Linked DNA regions of Homo sapiens: regions 1, 2, 3, 4, 5 and 7 are each linked to region 6. Evidence: promoter capture Hi-C in 16 types of primary human blood cells and fetal thymus (Javierre and others, 2016). All regions are on one chromosome and are shown on one strand. Each heading gives the region's core, a stretch centred on a gene start or on the middle of the fragment in contact. The rest is flanking DNA. Distances are from core to core; before and after follow the strand shown. Region 1 overlaps TDRD7 (tudor domain containing 7). Region 2 overlaps FSD1L (fibronectin type III and SPRY domain containing 1 like). Region 3 holds the start of ZNF782 (zinc finger protein 782). Region 4 overlaps TMEM38B (transmembrane protein 38B). Region 5 overlaps FKTN-AS1 (FKTN antisense RNA 1). Region 6 holds the start of MRPL50 (mitochondrial ribosomal protein L50). Region 7 has its middle 6.3 kb from the start of TMEM38B.

The links. The method cuts DNA at HindIII sites, captures the fragments that hold promoters and counts their contacts. A CHiCAGO score of 5 or more calls a contact.
Region 1: a contact is called between a fragment that was not itself captured here and the fragment with the promoter of MRPL50 in region 6, in 1 of 17 cell types (total B cells). The highest score is 8.1, in total B cells.
Region 2: a fragment that was not itself captured here is called in contact with the fragment with the promoter of MRPL50 in region 6 in 1 of 17 cell types (activated CD4 T cells); the score reaches 6.3 in activated CD4 T cells.
Region 3: a fragment that was not itself captured here is called in contact with the fragment with the promoter of MRPL50 in region 6 in 1 of 17 cell types (total B cells); the score reaches 6.9 in total B cells.
Region 4: a contact is called between a fragment that was not itself captured here and the fragment with the promoter of MRPL50 in region 6, in 3 of 17 cell types (total CD4 T cells, total CD8 T cells and naive B cells). The highest score is 9.0, in total CD4 T cells.
Region 5: a contact is called between a fragment that was not itself captured here and the fragment with the promoter of MRPL50 in region 6, in 1 of 17 cell types (activated CD4 T cells). The highest score is 6.3, in activated CD4 T cells.
Region 7: a fragment that was not itself captured here is called in contact with the fragment with the promoter of MRPL50 in region 6 in 3 of 17 cell types (naive CD8 T cells, total B cells and total CD4 T cells); the score reaches 9.4 in naive CD8 T cells.

What each region holds. Positions count from the first base shown.
Region 1 is chr9:97,412,282-97,415,528 of GRCh38, forward strand. The region is part of intron 1 of TDRD7 (tudor domain containing 7); the gene reads left to right. Among named protein-coding and RNA genes, the nearest start is that of TDRD7, 1.8 kb to the left of the region's middle. RefSeq lists enhancers at 1-297, 298-797, 402-661 and silencers at 1-81, 166-460. The HindIII fragment of the contact is 157 bases long and covers 1,913-2,069 here.
Region 2 is chr9:105,452,571-105,455,511 of GRCh38, forward strand. All of the region lies in intron 1 of FSD1L (fibronectin type III and SPRY domain containing 1 like), which reads left to right. Among named protein-coding and RNA genes, the nearest start is that of FSD1L, 6.0 kb to the left of the region's middle. The HindIII fragment of the contact is 5,463 bases long and covers 1-2,941 here.
Region 3 is chr9:96,852,703-96,855,592 of GRCh38, forward strand. It overlaps ZNF782 (zinc finger protein 782), which reads right to left and starts at 1,812. Exons shown (of 6, transcript NM_001001662.3): 1 at 1,386-1,812; 2 at 151-367. RefSeq lists silencers at 1,145-1,234, 1,515-1,584. The HindIII fragment of the contact is 2,179 bases long and covers 247-2,425 here.
Region 4 is chr9:105,707,397-105,710,423 of GRCh38, forward strand. All of the region lies in intron 2 of TMEM38B (transmembrane protein 38B), which reads left to right. LOC107987107 (a long non-coding RNA gene) reads right to left here. Exons shown (of 4, transcript XR_001746868.2): 2 at 649-796; 3 at 1-5. It also overlaps the pseudogene LOC100421293. Among named protein-coding and RNA genes, the nearest start is that of TMEM38B, 14 kb to the left of the region's middle. The HindIII fragment of the contact is 7,200 bases long and covers 1-3,027 here.
Region 5 is chr9:105,551,786-105,555,032 of GRCh38, forward strand. It overlaps FKTN-AS1 (FKTN antisense RNA 1), which reads right to left. Exons shown (of 3, transcript NR_184141.1): 3 at 2,250-2,558. It overlaps FSD1L (fibronectin type III and SPRY domain containing 1 like), which reads left to right. Exons shown (of 14, transcript NM_001145313.3): 14 at 1-648. Among named protein-coding and RNA genes, the nearest start is that of FKTN, 4.7 kb to the right of the region's middle. The HindIII fragment of the contact is 2,328 bases long and covers 762-3,089 here.
Region 6 is chr9:101,397,108-101,400,123 of GRCh38, forward strand. MRPL50 (mitochondrial ribosomal protein L50) reads right to left here and starts at 1,511. Exons shown (of 2, transcript NM_019051.3): 1 at 1,394-1,511. The coding sequence starts at 1,485. ZNF189 (zinc finger protein 189) reads left to right here and starts at 1,744. Exons shown (of 3, transcript NM_003452.4): 1 at 1,744-2,082; 2 at 2,777-2,903. The coding sequence starts at 2,050. RefSeq lists enhancers at 624-1,153, 1,154-1,682, 1,215-1,744. The HindIII fragment of the contact is 1,128 bases long and covers 1,386-2,513 here.
Region 7 is chr9:105,686,773-105,689,711 of GRCh38, forward strand. No RefSeq gene overlaps it. Among named protein-coding and RNA genes, the nearest start is that of TMEM38B, 6.3 kb to the right of the region's middle. The HindIII fragment of the contact is 8,166 bases long and covers 1-2,939 here.

The DNA.
Region 1 (3,247 bases), core at 741-3,240, 4.0 Mb before region 6:
CGACGTCGGACGAGATTTCGGGCGGGCGCGGCGCACCTGGGTCACCGGTGGGACCGCGGCCAGGGCCGGGGGCTCCAACAGGCTCGGGGCCTTTTCCCTGCAGCCGCAGGGGATTGCCCCCGCCCCGACGCCTGGGAACCGGGCTGGGCGCCGGGGGAGTTGGAGTTCCAGAGCGTTGTGTTTTAAATCTCTGAAGGGACCCTGCTCCGGGCCGGGCGTTCACGCGGGAGTCGGACGGAGCCTCCTGCCGCCTCGGAAGCTCTGCGCCGTGGGGGAAATGCAGCAGCGGGGTGTGGACGCGGGCGGGAGATGCGGACCAGGAAGTGGTTCCCGCTACCGGCGCGACAGGCCGCAGCCGCCGCCCCCAGCGAGGGATGTCCGCGCTCCCCTATTTGAACCCAAGTATTTTACACCACGAACTTCTCTTGAAGGTCTCTATAATCTGGAGACGAGCCCCAGGCAGGCCGCTTAAGTAATGCAGGACACACATCCCCATTTCTCTCAAACGAGGAGCACCCAGTGGGTACAGAGCACCCAGCTGGGAGGGAAACATGGATCCGTGAGTAAGTTGTCTCTCAACTTTCAGTAGCATCCCCTCAGCAGGGTCAGACTCTCAGCTTCAGCTTGCTAGGAGGGAGCTTGGAGCCGGCATATCTTTCTGCTCCCATTCACTTGAGAGGTATATTTCCATTAATAGCTAAAGGTACCATTCTCAAATAATTTCTAAGAGCAGGGAAGGGAAACAACCACATTAGAACAAGTCCTGGCCCAGAAGAATTCTGATCACCGCCCATCCAAACCAAACCAAACCAAAAAACCACAGATCTAGTTCATTAACCCTCCTACCAACACCTCTCTGCTCTCCAATCGTGCCGGTGAAAAAAATGCAGAGAAATGTTCTCTCTAGAGAGATAGGCAACAGCTTAATAGCAGAAGTAAAACTTGGACCCAAATCCCTGTCTCGTCCTGGGCTGCCTTGATGTGTATGAATGTGTTGCATACTGCAAATAATGTGAACTTTGCAGACCTGGATTGAAATCTGGGCTTCTCATTTTACAAATTGTGTGATCTTGAACAAATTACATGCTTTCTCTTAGCCTGGTTTTCTATGTGTCAAATAGAGGTACCTGGCTTACTTTGCAAGGCTTTTCCAAGATAACCACTGTATATCCTTTGCCTCATAATAATTGCCAAGCAGTATTCACTCTCTTCCTCCCAACAAACGGTCCATGTTTTACATAATTGGATTTTAGTTTTTTGAGGGCAGGGACACAAAGATCTTTGTGTTTACTATATAATATAAATGGGCACATGGTGGATATTTTTGCATTTCCTCTCAGCTGACATTCATTGAGCATCAGTTACGTGCAAAGTACTGTTCTGGGTATAGGGAATTGCCCCTGGGGCCAGCTGGATTAGCACTCACATCTCCTGTGCCCCAATCCAGGGCCCTTTGGTGGCACACAGCCTCCGTCTTTGGTAGTTGCACGGTGAGACTGTGAGGCAGCAGTTGGCAGTGCCTTCAGATTTCAGTCTCTGTAGATTGAAAATGAAGTGTAATCCCCTGCTAATGCCCTTTTAAGTGTACAGGTTGAACATGGCTGAATGAACTATTGTATTGTGCATCAAGAGATTTTAAACTCCTTGCAGAACCCCTCTTTTAAGTTCTCTGTGCAATATAATCTAGCTGGATACTTAATGTGAATATAAAGAAAAAATATAATCCAACCCCGAGTGCCTAATTTGTGTTTGTCAAGTGCTGTTTTCAAGAATTGAGATTTGACATAGAGTGCTTTGCATCTGGACACTTTCACAGAAGTTCCTTGGTGAAATTTTATATTTACGTGAACTGTTGTTTCTTTGTGCCAAACCTGCTTTTTCCTCCCTCCACTCCCACCTCTGTACTTTTGAAAGCTTCATTCTTGTCATTATTTCCCTGTAAGCCAAATATGTTTACAGTTTTGTCTTTCAAACTAAAAGTAATTAATTTTGCAATTTTTAGTTGAAGACATGTATATATGCCAATCAGAACTTGATCAGTGCAAGCTACCCAGTGTGACTTCAAAGTAAGCTTGGCATTTTAGCCTGTGCAGCTTTGTCATGAGTAAGCAAACTCGGTTTTCATTACATATTTGGACCTTATTTCAGCCTTCAGTGAATCCAAGGAAAGTTGAGAATCATGGCTCTTGCCCACCTTTCTTATCTTCCTTGTGAAAAAAAGAGACCTGAAGTGACTTGTCACAGGTAATCAGTAGCGGAACTAGGATTAAGACACAAACTCCTTACTAAGCCACTTTATTATCTCAGGGTTTTTTCGTCTAGTATGTAGACTTATGGAAATCCCTTACTTACGTACATTCGTGGTATGCAGTTAAAATGCACGAATAATTTGGAACTTGAGATCACAAGAATAAAAAAGATAACTCCCTGAAAAAAACTCTTAAGGAAGTATACCATCATCTGAGGGTATTAATCATCTTTTTCCTTTAAAAACCGGTTGGTGAAGGAGTAATTGAAGTGGTAACAGACTATGATTAGAAAGAAAAGAGCATTTAAAAGTGTCGCAAGGTGAGAAATCATTTATTGGGTAAAGATCTTAGGAAAAAATTTTCCCTCTGAGGCTCAGTTTATTGATTTGTAAGATAAGGAGCTTGGGTTAGCCTAGACGATGCCTAAAATGTGTCAGCACAGACATTATGGGACTTTAAGTTCCCGCTGTTGCTAAAATAGTGTCTTCAAGGAGAAGGGCAGTTAGTTATTAGAAGTATATGCCCTAAAGAGATATCCAGATACTTCAAAATTGAACATCTAACTAAAAGAAGCTAAGAGAGATTACTTGGTGTTTTCAGTTTACCCTAATAATTCTTCTGATTTGTTTTAAGATTTAGTGCCACTCGACAACTTAAACTGATGACATGAAAAATGTAGTAAGGAAGATGAGCCAAATCATACAGTTGGAAATAGTTGAGCAAGAAGAAACTTAGAAAAGAGAAGGCATAGGATGGAAGCCAGACTAGCTCAGCTAAAGGCCTTTGACACCAGTAGTTAGAGGAAGCAGATAACATGCAAATGACTGAGCCAGGGAGGATCAATCAATGGTAGAAGGCGTTTATCTGGGATACACCAAAACCAGGTTCTTCAGAATAGGACTTCCTTGGGCCATTTTCAGGTATAGTAAAGAGAAAAGCTGTGAATTTACAAAATGCAGTTTTGAAGTAGAGTGAGAATTATTTTAGGCCACTTAAAT
Region 2 (2,941 bases), core at 335-2,834, 4.1 Mb after region 6:
GGATAAGCCCCTATAAAGCAGGGTTCCCTCCCTCCCTCCCTCCTGTGGGCGCTCGCTCGCCTGCCTGCCTGCCTGCCTGCCTGCCTGCCTGCCTGCCTGCCTTCCTTCCTTCCTTCCTTCCTTCCTTCCTTCCTTCCTTCCTTCCTTCTTTCCTTCTTTCCTCCTCTCCTCTCCTCTCTTTTTCTTTTCTTTTTTCTTTCTCAGAGTCTTGCTGTCTTGCTCAGGCTGATGGCTCACCATGGCAACCTCTGCTTTCTGTGCTCAAGCTATCCTCCCAGCTCAGCCTCCTGAGCAGCTGGGACTACAGGTGCATGCCACCATATACTTGGCTAATTTTTGTGTTTTTTGTAGAGACAGGGTTTTGCCATGTTGTCCAGGCTAGCCTTGAACTCTTGGGCTCAAACGATTGACCCGCCTTGGCCTCCTAAAGTGCTGGGATTATAGGTATGAGCCATCACGTCTGACCTAAAGTTGTTTTTTTTTTTTTTTTTTTTTTGTTAAGCTAGTTAAGTGTAGTGAAAATAGTTGATAGATGATAAAGAACATGATTTAGGTAAAAACCTGGAATTTGGTCTCTCTTGTTGCCCCAAATAAAAATCACTATTTTAATTTTAATTTTAATTTTTTTTGAGACAGAGTCTTGCTCTGCCACCCAGGCTAGAGTGCAGCGGTATGATCTTGGCTCACTGCAACCTCTGCTTCCTGGGTTGAAGAGATTCTTGTGTCTTCGCCTCCCTCGTAGCTGGGATTATAGGCGCCCGCCACCACACTCAGCTAATTTTTTAAATTTTTAGTGGAGATGGGGTTTTGCCATGTTGGCCAGGGTAGTCTTGAACTCCTGCCTGACCTCAGATGATCCTCCCAAAGTGCTGAGATTACAGGCAGGAGACACTGCGCCTGGCCTAAAATTACTATTTTTATTTTGTGTGTGTGTGTGTGTGCGTGTGTGTGCATGTCTGTCTGCATGTATCTTTCCCCTTTTTTCAACTCTTTTGAGGGAATGTCTTAGCTTTCTATAGTAGAACTGTGAGCAAGAAAGTAGAAATGAATACCATATTGACATACTTATGACCACTATATATAATACAGATACATTCATTTTTCAATTGAACTTGGCAGTTTTTAAAAATTAGAAAGATAGTGAAGCAGACCTTTTTTTAAAAAAATTTTAACATAGTGCTTGTTTGCAATGCGTGGCTGAATGTAAGCAGGATTATTTATACAGTAAACACATATTGAATGTTTGCTGTAGTGCTAGATATTCTACTCTTAGGGTGGAAAATATTTTAAAGTTGGTGGATTTTATCTCCAGACTTTTAAAAATATGTTTTTCACTCTTTGTTGGCACTTCTTCCCAGCCACAAGGTTCTGATAGAATCTGGTTTCAGTTATTGATGCTTGTTGATTGCTGTTAATTGAATTTTGAACTAATTTATTAAAAAAGTATTAACGTAGCCAGCTTTTGCATTTCTATTGCATTATAAATATAGGTAATACAAGTTTATTGTAGGAAAATAAGAATATAAATAAAGTGAAAATAAAATAAAAACCACTCAATTCTGCCACCCAGAGATAACCTCTTCAACATTTATGTCACCATCTAGTTTTTTGGTATGCATATAAAAACTTTTCTAAAATTATGGTATCATGCTATATATGCTGCTCTATAATTTGCATTTCACATAATAAATTATGGATATTTTTCCATATTAATCATTCTACAATACTTTTAATGATTCAACAGAATTCTTTTGTATGCATGTTTTACAGTACCCTTTTGTTGTATCTTTTTGTTGATCCCAACCTTTTAATGTTATAAATATCACAGATAAGCATCCTTGTAGCCAAGTCTCTGCTTACACCCTTAATTATTCACTTACAATAAATTAGAAATGGAATTACTGAGTCAATGTATATCTATTTCAAAAATTTTATTTGATACATATTGTCAAGTTGCCCTTGAGAAGGGTTGTTAGTTTATACTAATACTCGCATCTCCACTCCAATGCCACCTTCTTTCATTAAATGGTAGGACCTCTGGTTTCTTTGGCCGACTATGAGCCTCCTTGACTTTACTGGGTAAAACAGCCAGTTCAAAGGCCACTGCACATGGTTAAGGCTTCTTTATCCTCTGGTGTGCTTTATTTTCCTCAAATCCTAGATGGGAGATTACCTCCTCATATGCTGTGATATCTTAAACTGGGTTCAGGGCAGAAAGGCAGCATTCCCCAGCCAGTTCTTTTACTAGCATTTAGACTTTTTCTCAGCTGGTAAGCTAGACAATCAGAATTGATTGTAGGCTGTCTCAGTTACATCTGTGTACAGGTAGTGTTCTCAACTGTTTCACTGTTAGAGAGGGTGTAGCCTTCCATCATTTAGGTATATTATGATTAGATTCCTGAATTTCCCAGTTCTCTTTTTTTCACCTTCTTGCATCACATCTGAGCATGATACTTTTGTTAAAATAACTGGTGAGATTCTGATTATCTAGCTAACAGCTGGATAGCGCTTTCTTGATTCCGCTCTTTATCACTGTATGGTAAACCTACCTAACAGCAGTAGTTTAAGCATACTATTAGAATGATCCTGTATGGCAGACTCACCTGAATGTGTCTTCTGAGCTTCACTGGGCTGTGTAGTTACCTTGTCCAGCCCACTGCCACTGGACCTTTTCTGTATATAAGGCAGTTCTCCTGCTCAGCCTGCCACCACTGGACTCTCTCCCTTGTATGTAATCCCTTAATAAAATACCATGCCTCATTTGGTGGCTCTGGGTTTCTTCAGCCTCTTGAACCTGGTGCCATCCCCACTGGAGTCGATGGAGGGGTTCAGCATGAAGTCACCTAATTCAAAGGACAGGTCTATGTGTGGGATGATGCAAGTGGCATCATTTCTGGTGGCATTATTGGGCATTTTCCAGGAATGTTACATGCTGATTTGA
Region 3 (2,890 bases), core at 86-2,585, 4.5 Mb before region 6:
TTCTTAGTAATATTATTTACCCTTGGTATAGACAATCCACAGAAAGTCTTATAAAAGAGATGAGATACTTTAAGGCAAAGAGTTTTAGATGTTTTAACTGGGATGTATTTCTCAAAAGGCCCTTTGGATAAGATGCTTTTGGTGACTCACCTGTGAAAGAATGAACGGAACTGTTTTCCTCCTGGCTCTACCACAAACGAGGGATCCCCGGAAACTCACTGAACCTTTCATGCCCAATGTCTTTAAAGCTTTCAAAAGAATCAGAAGTAGATAGCCACGGAAAACCCTTCATGTATCATCATGCATGGGATTCTATGAGGTAGGGACAAAGTCTCCAGTGTCACATATGTTAACAGCAGTATGGCATCTGTAAAGAGTGGAGAACAAAGCGACTGGGGGCTACTTTGGGATCTGGGGACAGAATCTCCGGTTACCCCTACCCTCAGACCTATGCAATGATGTGGCCTTTCCTGAGCAGCCTGTCCCTGGCCACCACCTAGCCCATTTTGCTCTTCTCAAAGCTGGCCCAAACCACCCACTGTCACCCATTGTGTGGTGGCTTCTGGAGGCTTCACCAAGTCTGGCTCATTCTGGGAAGGAGGATCAAGAACTGCTTCTGACCATACACATCTAGGATCTGCTCCTCTGTGGGCTCTTCTGCCTCTGCTCTGAAGCTCGGGAGGGAGGCCTAGGTCTGAGAGGTGTTCTCTTCCAGGTAAAACTGTTCACAGAGACCCCTGCTTCCCACCTCGCAAGGGCTGCTCTGTTCAAGGAGCCTGCGACCTGACCTGAGAAACCATGTTAGTGGCAAAAATCTGACTCTTAGAATTCTTTACATCAGACTTAAAAGAGAGACACCCTGACAATGCAGAAGGGGCCAGGAACCTGTCTGACCCAAGAGATCTGAAGACACACCAGAAATCCAGACTACATTTGACACATGGTAAGATTCCATCTACATCCACTCCCTGAGTATTTGGGGACATGACATTCTGCTAAGTGCTGTGAAGGCTGCAATGCTGGTTTTAGGCAGGTGTGATATTAGCGCCTGAAACGGGAAATAAATCACACCTGCCTTTGAACCCCAGCTCCCTCACTGCTAGCTTGTGACCTGAGCCTCAGTTATATTTAATGCAGATGTGGTTGTGAGGTATACATAGGCACCCAACGAATGGAACAAAGTGTCTTCTAAATATAACAGCAGCAGTCCGCTCATGGCTTAGTAGCCTACAGTCGGCTGTTTGCTTTACAGGTGGTGACTTAAAGTTTTAAACCAACGCCATGAAGCAGTCATTATTAATACCCTCACTTTCAGATGAGAAACCTGACTCTCATCCACGTCCCTACATTCGCCTCGGCTTCCAGTTGACAGAGATGGAACTTACCCGGGTTTTTCCAGCTCCAGAGCTCGGGGTCTCGATGCAGACCCACCGTCCGGGGATTTCGGGCACGTTGTCGCCCGCGTTACAAATGCGCTTTCCCCACCCCCGCCGCCGCTCGCGCCGGGCTCCGGTCCCGCACACCGCGGCCCGCACCCGGCACCTGCTCCGGACCAACGCTCAGCCTCAGCCGCCCCGGGAGCCAGCGGCCGAAGTCCCTCTCCAGCGGCCGGGAAGGCCGAGGGCCCGCCCGGTCGCATCCACTGACACAGGGGGCGGGGATCCCACAAACTTCCCGCTTCCTCTCCCGCTTCCGGGCACAAACGCTGTCCTCCCGCCCCAGCTGCGCCCCCTCTACTTTCCGAGCCGACCCCCGAGCTTCCCAAACCGCTTCCCGGGAGTCTCGAGAACCCAAATGAGGAGGCGGGGCTCTGGCTGCACAGGCGCAGAAGGAGCCCAGGAGCCCCATCCCAGAGTGCTGCGCGGCGAACCAGACTCATTCAGGACTACATTTCCCATAAGCTCTTGCGTCCGCCTTCGACGTGACTCCTCACGTTTCGGCGATTCAGAATTGGCGGGGATGGAGTTTTTATGAAGTCTCCCGCTCAGGCTCTCCAAGAACAGGGAGAAGTTAAAGGTTAAAACTTAAACGCTACTGACAAATACAAAGAGTAGCCCTCCATTGGTTCCCGGTTGAACCAACATTTTTTTTTTCCGTAAGACTTTCGGAGACAATTGGGAAGCTGAATATGGATTGGGAATTGCAAATATTGAAAAAAAGTACCATTACTTTTGTGAACTGTGAAAAAAAATTAAGAATTTTGTAGAAATTTTTTTTTTAAAAAAAGGGATCACTACTGAAGTATTTAGCATTGAAATGATATAACTTTGAATTTACTTTACAATTTTATACATTTTCAACCTGGAACCTCCACCTTGTCTCTTTACAGCCTACCCGACCCATTGACCTGTGAGCCCTGTCCTGGCGCCCCCAGGCGTGAGGGTTCTAAGGCGGGTCGAGCCCGGTGCTGCAGGTGTTAGAGAAAAGCTTTTGGTTTTTATCCCTTAACATTGCTTCTTGCCGAATTCTCTTATTGATTCAACATATTTAAATTTAATGTTAATTATCTTAGGTTTCCATGCGCATTAACGAATTTTCTTGCTTTTTGCTGATTGTTTTTTATTTCCGTAGGTTATTGGGGAACAGATGGTGTTTGGTTACATGAGTAAGTTCTTTAGTGGCGATTTGTGAGATTTTGGTGCACCCATCACCTGAGCAGTATACACTGCACCCCATTTGTAGTCTTTTATCCCTTGCCCCGCTGCCCTCCGCCATTCCCCGCCAAGTCCCCAAAGCCCATTGTGTTATTCTTATGCCTTTGCATTCTCATAGCTTAGCTCCCACTTATGAGTGAGAACTACGATGTTTGGTTTTTCCACTCCTGAGTTACTTCACTTAGAATAATAGTCTCCAATCTCATTCAGGTCGCTGCAAATGCCATTAATTCATT
Region 4 (3,027 bases), core at 125-2,624, 4.3 Mb after region 6:
ATAATCTATAATAAAAATTATAGTTTTTTTAATGTATAAAGCAGAAACTGTTTTCTGTTAAGAACCATATCATTAAATATATAACAGGAACACTTACAGTTCATTTTTATTGTGATAATTTTAAAATGAATATGTAACCAGTTCTAAAAGGGATATTACAAATAATAGTAGCAATGGGAAAAAGTAATCCTGGGAACCTATGGCAATGTTGAGTTGTTACGATATGTCAGTTAAGTTCTTTATATTCATTGTTATATTTAATCAGAGGAGTACTATAAGGTAGCTATTATTATTTCCATTTGACAAATGATAAAATTGAGGCATAGGGAAATGCTGCTATAACTTTCTTGTCTAGTAAGTGGTTGAGCTAGAATCAAAACAAGAAGTTTTTAACTTTAGAGTCTTCACACTTTGTAGCCACTATCTCTCACAGATTTGTTTAACCATCTCTTAAAGTGTAGTCTTCCAGTTGCTATGTGTTTTAAAAAACTTTCCCAAAGACTTTTATTTCTATAACAATATTTTTAAAAGTTATTAGCATTTTGGAAGAATTTTTTGATGTGTATAGATGCTGAAACTATACAAAAAGGAAGATATCCAGAATTTGATACTTTCTGTTATTTCTACTTCTGTTCCTATAATACTAACCTCCTGGATGATTGCAGGAGCTTCCTAAGTGGTCTTGCTGCTTCTTTGATTATCCCTTTGAGTCTATTCGTTATTCTTCATGGAGCAGACAAAATTATTACAGTTGGCCTTCTATACCCATGGGTTTTGCATGCTTGAATTCAACCAGCTGCAGATCAAAAATATTTGGAAAAAAATCCAATAAAAAATAACAATGCAACAATAAAAATAATGCAAATAACAATAATGTGTAACAACTATTTGTATAGTATTTACACTGTATTAGGTATTATAAATAATCTAGAGATGATTTAAAGTGTAGTGGAGGATGTGTGTAGGTTATGTACAAATCCTCTGCTATTTTATATAGGGGCTCTCACATTCACAGATTTTGAAGGAGAATCCTGAAACCAGTCCCCTACAGATACTGAGGGACAACTTAAGTTAGAACATGTCACTCATGTGCTCAGTAATTTCTTATCTTATTAAGAACAATATCCCAAACTTTTACCATGGCCTGTAAAACCCTGCAAAATACTCGCTTTCACTTTCTTTTATGTAACGTCTTACAACTCTATTCTTGCTCAGTTTGCTCTAGTCACATGAGCTTTGCTATTTCTTGAATGTTCCAACGTAAGGTATTCTTCTACCTCAATGCCTTTGTACTTTCTTTCTTCTCTTTGTAATCTTTTTTTCCTCAGAAGTCTCATATTTTGTTTTATCAGAGAGGCCTTCCCTGACTAAAGTAGCACCTCCTCTCCCATGACTATCACATCATCCTTCTTTATTTTTCTTCTTAGAATTATTGCTATCCAACATGTTATCTGTTGATTTTTTTTTTTATGTTGCTCTAACTATACTGGAATAATAGCCCATCAGAGAGTGAGCCATCATGCCTGGCCCCTGGCTAATGTTTAAAATTTTTATATTTGTTGAGATGAGGTCTCACTATGTTTCCCACGTTGGCTATTTTTTTTTTTTTTACTGTCAAAGTTATTTATTCACTATACATAGAACATGTCCCCTATAAAATGTACATGTAAATCACTAAAAAGTAAAATTTGGTGAACATTTTCTCAATTACAGAACATACTACATCAGTTGGGATAATAGCTGTCTACCTTAAAATAATCTAATTATAGCACCCAGTCTCGTTTATATCTAATGCAAAGTTAAATACTTATTTTGGGGGTTATTTCCTAGTATGTGTTTGGTGAGGCTGAGTAAACAATTTAATATAACTCCAGTATATTACAGTCACTGCACAATAAATCAGTTTATTACAGATTAAAACAAATCATTTTTTAATTATTTGTAATAATGGGATCAGACAAACACGGGATAATTTTAAATGGCATATAACCACACAATTACTTATCTTTGATAGTATATTGGGTTCTATAATTATATTAAGATATGAATGGTGTAAAATATTGTAACGAATAATACATCTCAAACAAGACAATTAGGCCATACTGTAATCATTCACTAGATTGTACCCAGTAGACATTTACTGAATAAGGGAATTATCTACTTTTCTCCTCAATTAACCAGTACAATGTTTTGCCCACAGTGTCAGCACTCAATAAATATTTGCTGAACATACTGACTAGGATAGAGGTGAGAAGAGATGGGCCCTCTTAGCTGGATGTCGAATATAATTGGAATTTACCTGGGAAGGAGAGTAGTTAAGGAAGATGTAAACTGCATGTGGTGTACAAGTAAATAAACGCAGATGCCAACAAAGCCAATGATTAAGCAGAAAACACTGACACCAAAATAAACAAAGGCAAGATTTGCCAATAATGGCGAAAATGGAACTTTTATATTGGACCATAACTTTTCCCACCTAAATCAGTTTGAGGCAGACCAACAGAGGCACTGTAAGAGACTACGGCTGTCTTCCTTGATATTCAGACATCCTAGTTTCCAATAATTTATTATGGACCTATTACCCATGAATCAATATACGCTTATTCATATTTAGGGATTAGTTTCCGCAAGTACAAAGTTGAATGTCCTTTTATTTGTCCTAAAATGCTTACTTTCAAACTTGAGGGGACTTCAATTATTCCATGTAGTTTTCGATAACATTCTTTTATCTTTTCAGACCAGAGTCAAAATATTTGTACAGTATTCATACTGCAGCACCTTCCACACACCCCTTTGTCACTTGAACTGCCCTTCTTTGGTTCTTTTTCCACTTTCAGATCTTTCTTGAAGTCTAGTAAGCACAACTGTACTGGATATTCCAGCTACAGTTTGGTCTGTCATTGTCGGAATGGCTTCTGCTACTCTGTGGTCTTCCAGCCAGTCTATTTCTAGGATTATATGATCTTCTATAGTTGTTATGAAAAGACTGACTTCATGATCTCCTTCTTTCATAACTTCGGCTTCTAG
Region 5 (3,247 bases), core at 676-3,175, 4.2 Mb after region 6:
ATGAATTAAGCTACATTTCCATGCAGGCATTTGCACTTTGAAGTTAGGGCTGCCCAGTGCCACATGCAAAGAGTGTATTTGGTCTAAACAGTTCTTTCCAAACAACCAAATGGCTGGGCAGCTTGTTGTCACGGATAAATGATATAAAATGTAACCACTGAACATTTGACAACTTTGTTGCATTATCATTTTTAAAAAAAGATGAAGCATTTCAAAATCTTGTTAACCTGGTTATCTCTTGGTATCTCTCCTGACATATTTGTTTTGCTTTAAATTGGATTAAATGGTTTACAGGTTATCTGAATCTACAGATTTAGTATGTCTATTATCTGGACATGATTTTGCTATGCAGTTGTGATAATAAAAATTCTAATTCCTCAGGTTTGGCCTTTTAAGTTATGGCTGAAGACCTTTAATGATACTTATGATGCACTCAGTGCCATACAATAGTGTTTTAAGAAGCACATGGCCTCATTTTCCTTAGAAACAAGACAAAGCCTTTTTAAAATGTTTTTTTTTCACTTTAAAATAGGGTATTCAAAGTGGAGTAACGTGTATTTTGAAATGATTTTGTGTTCTATATAGAATGTCCCAGTTAAGATTTTACAGAAGCACCTGGAATATCTCATTAAAAATTTAAAAACTCTTTTCCTGCTCTCTTTTGCTTCATTGTTTGATTTTATTAACTTTTATTTAAGTATAAATACAATATGCTGTTGGGGATGAGAATATAAAAAAAGTCATAGTTCCTTTGCCTAAAAAGCTTAACATTTTAGAGCACTACTGTTCAACAGAATTTTATGCAATTATGAAAAGTTATTTGTGCAGTCCAATACAGTAGTGACTGGCCATAGGCAGCTACTGAGCACTTTATATGTGGCTACATAGAGTTGCATATTGCTAATAGCCACTGTTTTGAACAGTGTACCTACAGATGGAAAATGAAACATGCTATGTTAGTAACTATAATATTACTTATGAATTTGGTTTCTTTGGATCTTGCTACATGTTGGGTTACATTTTGGTAGATGGTAACTAAGAGTCAGAATCAGAACCTAAACATTTTTAAAATTCTTGCTCTAACTTGAAAACAGTTTAAAAGAAAAAAAATCAGTGAGACTGGAGCGCCTGTAACTAAGAAGTTATGTAAGAAGAATGAAAGGAGACTGGATAGTCTTGAGTCACAGGAAGAAGAATGGACAAAGATTGATAAACCACTATAGAAGATGGAGAGTGAATGGGTGCAGCATTTCTGGAGAACAATTTTAGCAATATTAAGATTTTTAAATGCACATGCTCCTTAATTTCCTTTATAAGTATTTCTCTTACATATATACTCACAAAAAAGCCAATGTTCCTTGCAGCATTACCATAGCTAATAGTAGCAACCTAATTATTAATTGAAGACCTACAAATTTGGATGGACTTGGAGGTAAATTCCTTTTCCTTTTTTGGTAGCAAGGCACAGAACTGGTTCAAAAGGCCCAAGTTGCCTCAACAAAAGAATGTGATAACAGAATTTTGAAGGCTCCCCTTTTCTAACTTGCTGCACCAGCAAACTACCATATAAGTAGTGGTCTAGATATTATATATTCTGCACATTCCCCTCCCCAATAAATGTTATATAGACCATTATGACAATTGGCTTAATTAGAGCCTTTTCCTTGGTATACCAGTTCATTTGTGCCTGGCTGGGAGTTCTGTGGCATAAGAGCTCAGGATATTATGTGCACTCTACTTTTCTACTAAACCCCATTTTACACTTACACTGCATGGTGTATTTGTATTTATTTATTTTTGCACAAGGTCAGCACAAGAGCAGATGGTTAGATTTTGGTATTTCCATGTGATCCTACACAGCTGTTAAAGGATATGCTGTTAATGGAAGTGTATTCATGATATTAAACAAAAAAGTCATCCAGCAATATATACAGTACGATACAACGGGTGTGTGCATGCATGTATACTTGGGTAAGAGGGGACCCTGACCTGATCACCACACAGTCTTGCTGTGCTTCTCTTCATGGGATGAAAAATTGAGGAGCCAAGGGATTATGCCTACTTGGAATGCATGTTTCATTACCCACTTATATACTATATTATTGAAACAGTCTTTCGTTGTCTGAGATAACACCTGGAGTTCTTGTCCACTTATATACTACATTATTGAAACAGTCTTTCGTTGTCTGAGATAACACCTGGAGTTCTTGTCCCACCTCCAAGACGATTATGGAGCACGGACACAAAGGTGAGGTTAGAGTGAAAGTTTAATAAGGTGAAAGAAGAAAGCTCTCTGCCAGCAGAGAGGGGGTCCCGAACGGGAGTGCCCATCATGAGGCTGGGGTCCAGGTTTTTATGGACGGAAGGGGAAGGAATGTGCTTAGTCTGGGGGCTGTCTTGGCGAATGCGTGACTCGGCTTGGCCCGGGACCAGTCAGGAGGTGAAATGATTCATAGATGCTGCTTAGCTTGGCCCAGGACCTATCAGAAGCTGAAGTGAAGTGTGGCCGAGGACCAATCGGGCTGAGGTGATGATACACAGCAGCTGGACTTACAGTCCTAACAAAGGAAAGTAGAGCGCCCATAGGAACTTACCAGAGCCCACTGTGCCCATGCCTACAAAAGGGGAATAAACTTTTCCTGGGAACCTGCTGACAATACAAAGGACCAAGGCATTTCTATGCCAGGCCTTGTTCCCTTATCTGAGTGAGCTGGAGGTTTGTGCAAGTTTTTATCCAAATGGGCCGTAGGTTTTTCCATCTGTGCAGTCATGGGCATGTCTCCAGGCACAACACCCTGTGCTAGTTCCCTTATTGGTGCCTGCAGCTTTTTTCCCAGGCTGCTTTTTATATTATCTGGGGATAAGGCACTGACTCATGAGCCAGGGGCTCTCCAGGACCCTTCTCTTGTTACCTACCTAAGGTAAGCTAACTAACCGGATCCCCACACTCTTGCTGTGCCTCTCTTCATGGGATGAAAAATTGAGGAGCCAAGGGACTATGCCTACTTGGAATCCATGTTCCTTTACCCACAGAATTCTATACTATGTTATCAGCCAGAACCCCAGGATTCCTTGCCTCATCAGCCTGAAGCTTGCTTCCAGGATATGTGCAGGCCTTTTGTCCAAATCCATCCTGAAAAAAGACTACTACAGATGTATATACCCCTATGGCTGGCAGTTTGTGGGAAGTACAGATGAAGCTTGGATGTGCAGACTGAGTTGTCCACATGCATGCATGATAGGCCCC
Region 6 (3,016 bases), core at 261-2,760:
TGTACTGTATACTTGAAATCTTCTGAGAGTAAATCTTAAGTGTTTTCACCACACACACAAAAATTCTAACTGGCCAGGTGTGGTGGCTCACCCCTGGAATCCCAGCAATTTGGGAGGCCAAGGTGGGAAAATTACTTGAGTCCAGGAGTTCAAGACCAGCCTGTGCAACATAGTGAGAACTCCTTTCTCTAAAACAAAACAAAACAGAAAGTATGTGAAGAGATGAATATGATAATTATCTTGACTAATAATCAACATCAAGTTGTATATCTTAAATATATAAAATTTTTAAAATAGTAAAGAAAATATAATCATCATTCTCAGTAATCTATTTCCTCTAGTTTTCTTCATAATTTACCACTTTCTGAAATTACATTACACATTTGTTCATTTCTTCCTCCATTAGAACATATGCCCTACGAGAACAAAAATTTGGTCTGTTTTAGTAACCACTGTATTCTTACAACACCTAAGATATAGCCTGGCATATAGTAAACAGCCTAAAAAATATTTGTTGAGTGAATGAATAAAACAAACTTGGAAGAGATTTGAGAGATAATAACAAATATTGACCAAAGAAGAGGGAAAGCTAATATCTGAACTGATGAAAAAGATCTTTCCTAATTGTAGTGGTTTTTGTTTTAAACCTAAGAGAGCATACATTGCTCCCTAGGGTTCCTACCATACGTTTTGATTTCCTAAACACTATCTAAGTCAAATTAGATTTACCTTCAAACAATTACACATGGTGCAGCCGTGCAGCAGAAAAAGCAGTAGATGGGGAGTTAGGAGACATATGTTCTAGATCCAGCTTTGCAATTAACTTGCTTTGTGACTTTGGGAAAATCACTTCCCTCCTGTGGGCCTGTTTCCTCATATGTTGGAGTACCTCGAGGATGAGAATGGATTTTGTTTTTCCTGCTGTATCCTAGGCGCTTAGAGTAATGCTGGCCCTAAGAAATCTGTTGAATGACTGAATGAATGAACAAACAAAAGGAGGAGGCAGTACTTCATTACTGAACCTTGCTTGTGAAGAAACACAGCCGGCAAATGAGTTTAGTTTACCAAGCGCTTTCATGTGTTTGCAGACAACACACTCGGTGTCTCGCACACGAGGTTAATCCTGCTTGCTTAATAAATAAATGAATGAGTGAAGTGAAAAGGAAAGGGGGTGGTATTTCCGTTATAAAATGAGAAAACTAAGGCCGAGAGTGGAAGAGACTGGGTCCCACCACTCAATGAGTGCTTCTCAACTCGGGACCCTAACCGGACCTCCTTGTCCTTGCTCTGATCAGGCGCGGGACCACGATGGCGTAACACTCTATTTTGAATTCGTCCCTAATCCTCCTTAACTTTCCTTGAACATGACCCACCGTCCACCATAAAGCTTTACCTGAATCGAGACCAAAATTCTCTACATGGTGTCCCTGAGACTGTCCACATGAAGACTCTTCTGGTAATGCCCGACACAGATCGCGCCGCCATCTTCGATGAGATCCACGGGCCTGAGCGCAGCCTTCAGCCAGCAGTGACGCGCCCAGACCAGCCAATCGGATACAATCCCAGTGGCAAGAGCTTTCTTTTTCCTGTAGGCTCCCTCGCCCTTTGCACGCTGGGAAATGTAGTCCAGTAGCTGTTGCTGGCGGCGTCTGGACCGCGGCGCTCTTTCCGAGCATGACGGGAGTTGTAGTTGAGGGGGCCTCGGGAAGAATCTGGGTGACGCCTTCTGGTCCGGGGGCGGGCGGTCATAGCGTTACTTGGCTGCAAGGAGGAGGAACTGGCAGCGGGGAGGAGGCTCTAGCGAGGCCTGAAAGGCTGCGTAACCAGGCAGGAGTAGGGGTTGGGGTTCGGGGTTGGGGGACAGCCAGGGATCGCGTCTGATATGCTGTTGGGGTCGTGACCGTCTGGGGGCCGAGGCAGGCACTGGCCAGACCCAGCCAGGGATCCTCGTATTCGTCGAGCCTAATTTCCAGCAGCCGGGTAGGCCTCACCAGAGGCTCCTTTCCGTGAGGCCGCCCCCAATTCCTGCCCCTATTCTCTGCCTGGGAGATGGCTTCCCCGAGCCCCCCGCCGGAGTCGAAGGTAAGTAAGCACCCCCCCGGGGATCCCGGTTGTCTCGCCGCTACCCCAGCTAGGCCGCACCACTGCTTTCTCCCCCAGGCCCCCCACCAACCTCCTGACCGCCTCTTTAGGGCCAGCGCCTTGCAAGGAACTCCCCACTAGTGCATTGGGGTGCGGTTCGCGAACAAACTGCCCACTGGCTCCCTTTTTTTTTTTCTTTTTCTAGAGAGACTTGATAAATCGGCCTGAGAAAATAAGTAATGCTCCAGACTAGCTCTCTCATTTGTGAGTTCTCCAGGTGAAGCACCATTTTTGACCTTCCCTTGTGTCTTCTGTTCCTGGCACAGTGCCTGGACCCCAAGGTACACGCTTAGAGAACCTCAAGGAATTGAATTGAATAGAGTCACAAGCCAGTGCAAATGGAAAATTGAAGTAGGCAATGAGGTGAGGGAAGCTTGGAGAGGCCTTGGGGCAGTTTACTAAAATTAAACTCTCAGGGCATAATAAATCAGAAAAGCCTTATCCGTAGGTCCTTTCTAGTCTGAGATGTCTGTCAGTTACAGTTCGTTCCCAGAATTGGGCAACATATGGAACTTTCAGTTATCATGTTCCTCCTAGCCTACTTGGCCACAATAAGTGATTGCCTCTGTCACTTTTAGTGGTAGAATTGTCCTTGAGACAACAGGAACTGACTACAGAAATCATACTATTTCAGGGGTTGCTGACATTTGAGGATGTGGCTGTGTTTTTTACCCAGGAGGAGTGGGATTATCTGGACCCAGCTCAGAGAAGCCTGTATAAAGATGTCATGATGGAGAATTATGGAAACCTGGTCTCACTGGGTAAGAATCTGCTGTTTCTCTAATTAAAATATCTAAGAAGGTAGAGAGAAATCAGACTAACAGAACATTTGGACGGAAACCAGTACCAAAACTGCTTTGTTCCAAAGTTCTGA
Region 7 (2,939 bases), core at 241-2,740, 4.3 Mb after region 6:
TTGTTAATCCACCTGCAACTGCATTTTCCCTCTCTGTGTCTACGGACCCTCCTGACCATGCATGCTCTGGTATTTGGACACATTTATAAATCCCTAGGTACGATTCTTTTTATTTGCCCATATATCAAGTACATGTGTTCTCACTGCTAGTGTTTCGGTTTGATCAACCCATCTATACAGATAACCGACACTTTGTGGGTTCCCAGCCACAGCCATGTGCATTTTCTTTCAAACCTCACCCATCCATCTTATTCTTTTTTGTGACAGGGTCTTGCTCTGCTGCCCAGGCTGGTGTGCTGTGGTACGATCATATCTTACTGTAGCCTCAAACTCCTGGGCTCAAGTGATCCTTCCACCTAAGCCTCCCGAGTAGCTGGGACCAGGTGCACCTCACCACTCCTGGCTATTTTTTAAACATTTTGTAGAGATGGGGTCTCACTATGTTGCCCAGGCTGGTCTCAAACTTCTAGCCTCAAGAAATCCTCCCACCTTGGCCTCCCAAAGTGCTGGGATTGTAAGTATCAACTACCACACCTGGCGTCATCCACCCCATTTTCTAATCTCCTTCCTTTGCCTGTCATCTAGTATAACAAGATGCTAATTTATCGTGAAATTCCATTAGATCCCCTAAGACAAAAGATGCTACTTCTACATTCTGAAAAGACAATTAAGCCCTGTCTATGCAGGACTTAATAAAATATAACAGCTGGCCTAGTGAACTTCACTTTCAACAATCCAAGAGGTCAAGAATTTGAAGGGAAATTCATGGAAGGGAATTCAGAGGGCTAGAGGCTTTGCCTTCCTACTCCTCTCCCTGTGAAGAAAGAGGTGCTAACTTCCCCCAAGCCAATTCAGACTCTATTTAAGCAGATAAGAAATTATTTTTTCACGTAACAGGAAGTCTGAGAAGGACAGTTGATAACTTCAATGATCTGCTATTTTCTCTCATGGTCACAACATGGCTGCCCTAGCTCTAGGCAGAAAGACAAGGAGAAGGGCCAATGTCAAGGGCATAGTCCCTTTTATCAGAGAAGCCACATATTTTCATTGATCTATTTTTCTATTTTTTCACCAATATCGTACGTCTTGATTATCACCGTAGCTTTATAGTAAATCTTGAGGCTGGACAGTGTCAGTCCTTCAACTTTGTTTTTCCTTACTTTGTTTTCAGAAGCATGTCAACCTAGGTCCCCTGAAGTTTTATTTGCCAGTATCCTAACACAAGTTCACACCTTGCTGAGAGGCTGAACAAACTATATCTAATGTTTTAACCGGATACACAGAGTTGAATATGTGTGCTGGGTTATTCAACCAGTGGTGTCTGCCTTAACTGTAGAGGTTAGGAGATCTTGCTGTGTGAGCTCCATGGCATCATTGGGGAACCCACAAATAAACCCCATGAATGAGTCTGCATTGACAGCCTGCCATAGAGAAGAATATCAATAGCCAAAAGCAAACCAAGACAAAGAAACCAAAAAACAAAAACTATGACCAACATTTGCCAACTAGAAAGTCTTCTGTTCCTTTTCTCTAATTTCCCTCCTCACTGCCCTAACCCTAGAAGACATAGCAGATGAAAGGAGCAGAAGATGAAGAAAGGCTGGAGGACTCCACCATGCCCATTGCCCCATCAAAGTCTCTGAGACAGGCAGTCCTGAGCAAATGGGAGGAAAGAAGTTCTATATTGCATGTAAGATGGATGTTTTAACTGGACTGGACTTTTTATTTTATTTAAAAAATATCTTAAGTTAGCTGGGAATGGCAGCAGGCACCTATAATACCAGCTATTTGGGAGGCTGAGGCAAGAGAATCACTTGAACCTGGGAGGTGGAGGTTGCAGTGAGCCAAGATCCTACCACTGTACTCCAGCCAGGGCAATAGAGCGATACTCTGTCTTAAAAAAAAGAAAAAGAAAAAGAAAAAGAAATCTTAAATGACAACAAAGCAATGGGATCTGCTGAGATAATGTCAAAGAATGGGATGGGGTTACTAATGATTACTAATTGGTCTTCCTGGCCCTTATCTGGTGGGTGGCCTTTTCATTGCTGTAGGGATGCTGAATCTCTCTGTAAAGGAAAACTTCAAAAGAAGTATTTGGGTTCTGTTAGACAGGAGAAAACCTAGTAGGAGTACATAGGGAAGACTGATTGTAACAGAATAGTAACAAATTTTGGTCTGTCACTGCCCATGGTGACCTCTCTAGCACTTAGTTTCCTACTTTAAAATAAATGGGTTGGCCGAGCGCTGTGGCTCACGCCTGTAATCCTAGTGCTTTGGGAGGCTGAGGCAGGCAGATCACTTGAGGTCAGGAGTTGGAGACCAGCCTGGACAACATGGTGAAACCCCATCTCTACTAAAAATACAAAAATTAGCCGGGCGTGATGGCAGGTGCCTGTAATCCCAGCTGCTCAGGAGGATGGAATCGCTTGAACCTGGGAGGCAGAGGTTACAGTGAGCTGAGATCGCGCCACTGCACTTCAGCCTGGGCAACAGAGCAAGACTCACCCTCAAAAAAAGAAAAATAAATAAATTAAAAAATAAATAAAATAAAATAAACAGGTTAAAGAAAATGATTATACTAGACATCTCTTGGGATGTCTGCCTAGCTCCCTCCTTTCTCTTTATTTTTTTTGAGACAGTGTCTCACTATGTTGCTCAGGGTGGTCTCAAACTCCTGGGCTCAAGCGATCCTCCTGCCTTGGCCTCTCAAAGTCCTGGGAGTACAGGTGTGAACCACTGCACCCAGCCGCTCCTTCCTTTTTCAGGAAATTGCCTCTGATATGTAGGGATGCATCAGATCTGAACCACGTGACCCGGCCTCCCATCAGAACTGATTAACCAGGAGTGTACAGCTGTCCCAGGCCAGGACAGGGTCTTTCTCCTGGCAATATTCAATAGGGGGACCCAGAGGCTAAGAGATGTTGGCACTGAGTATCATC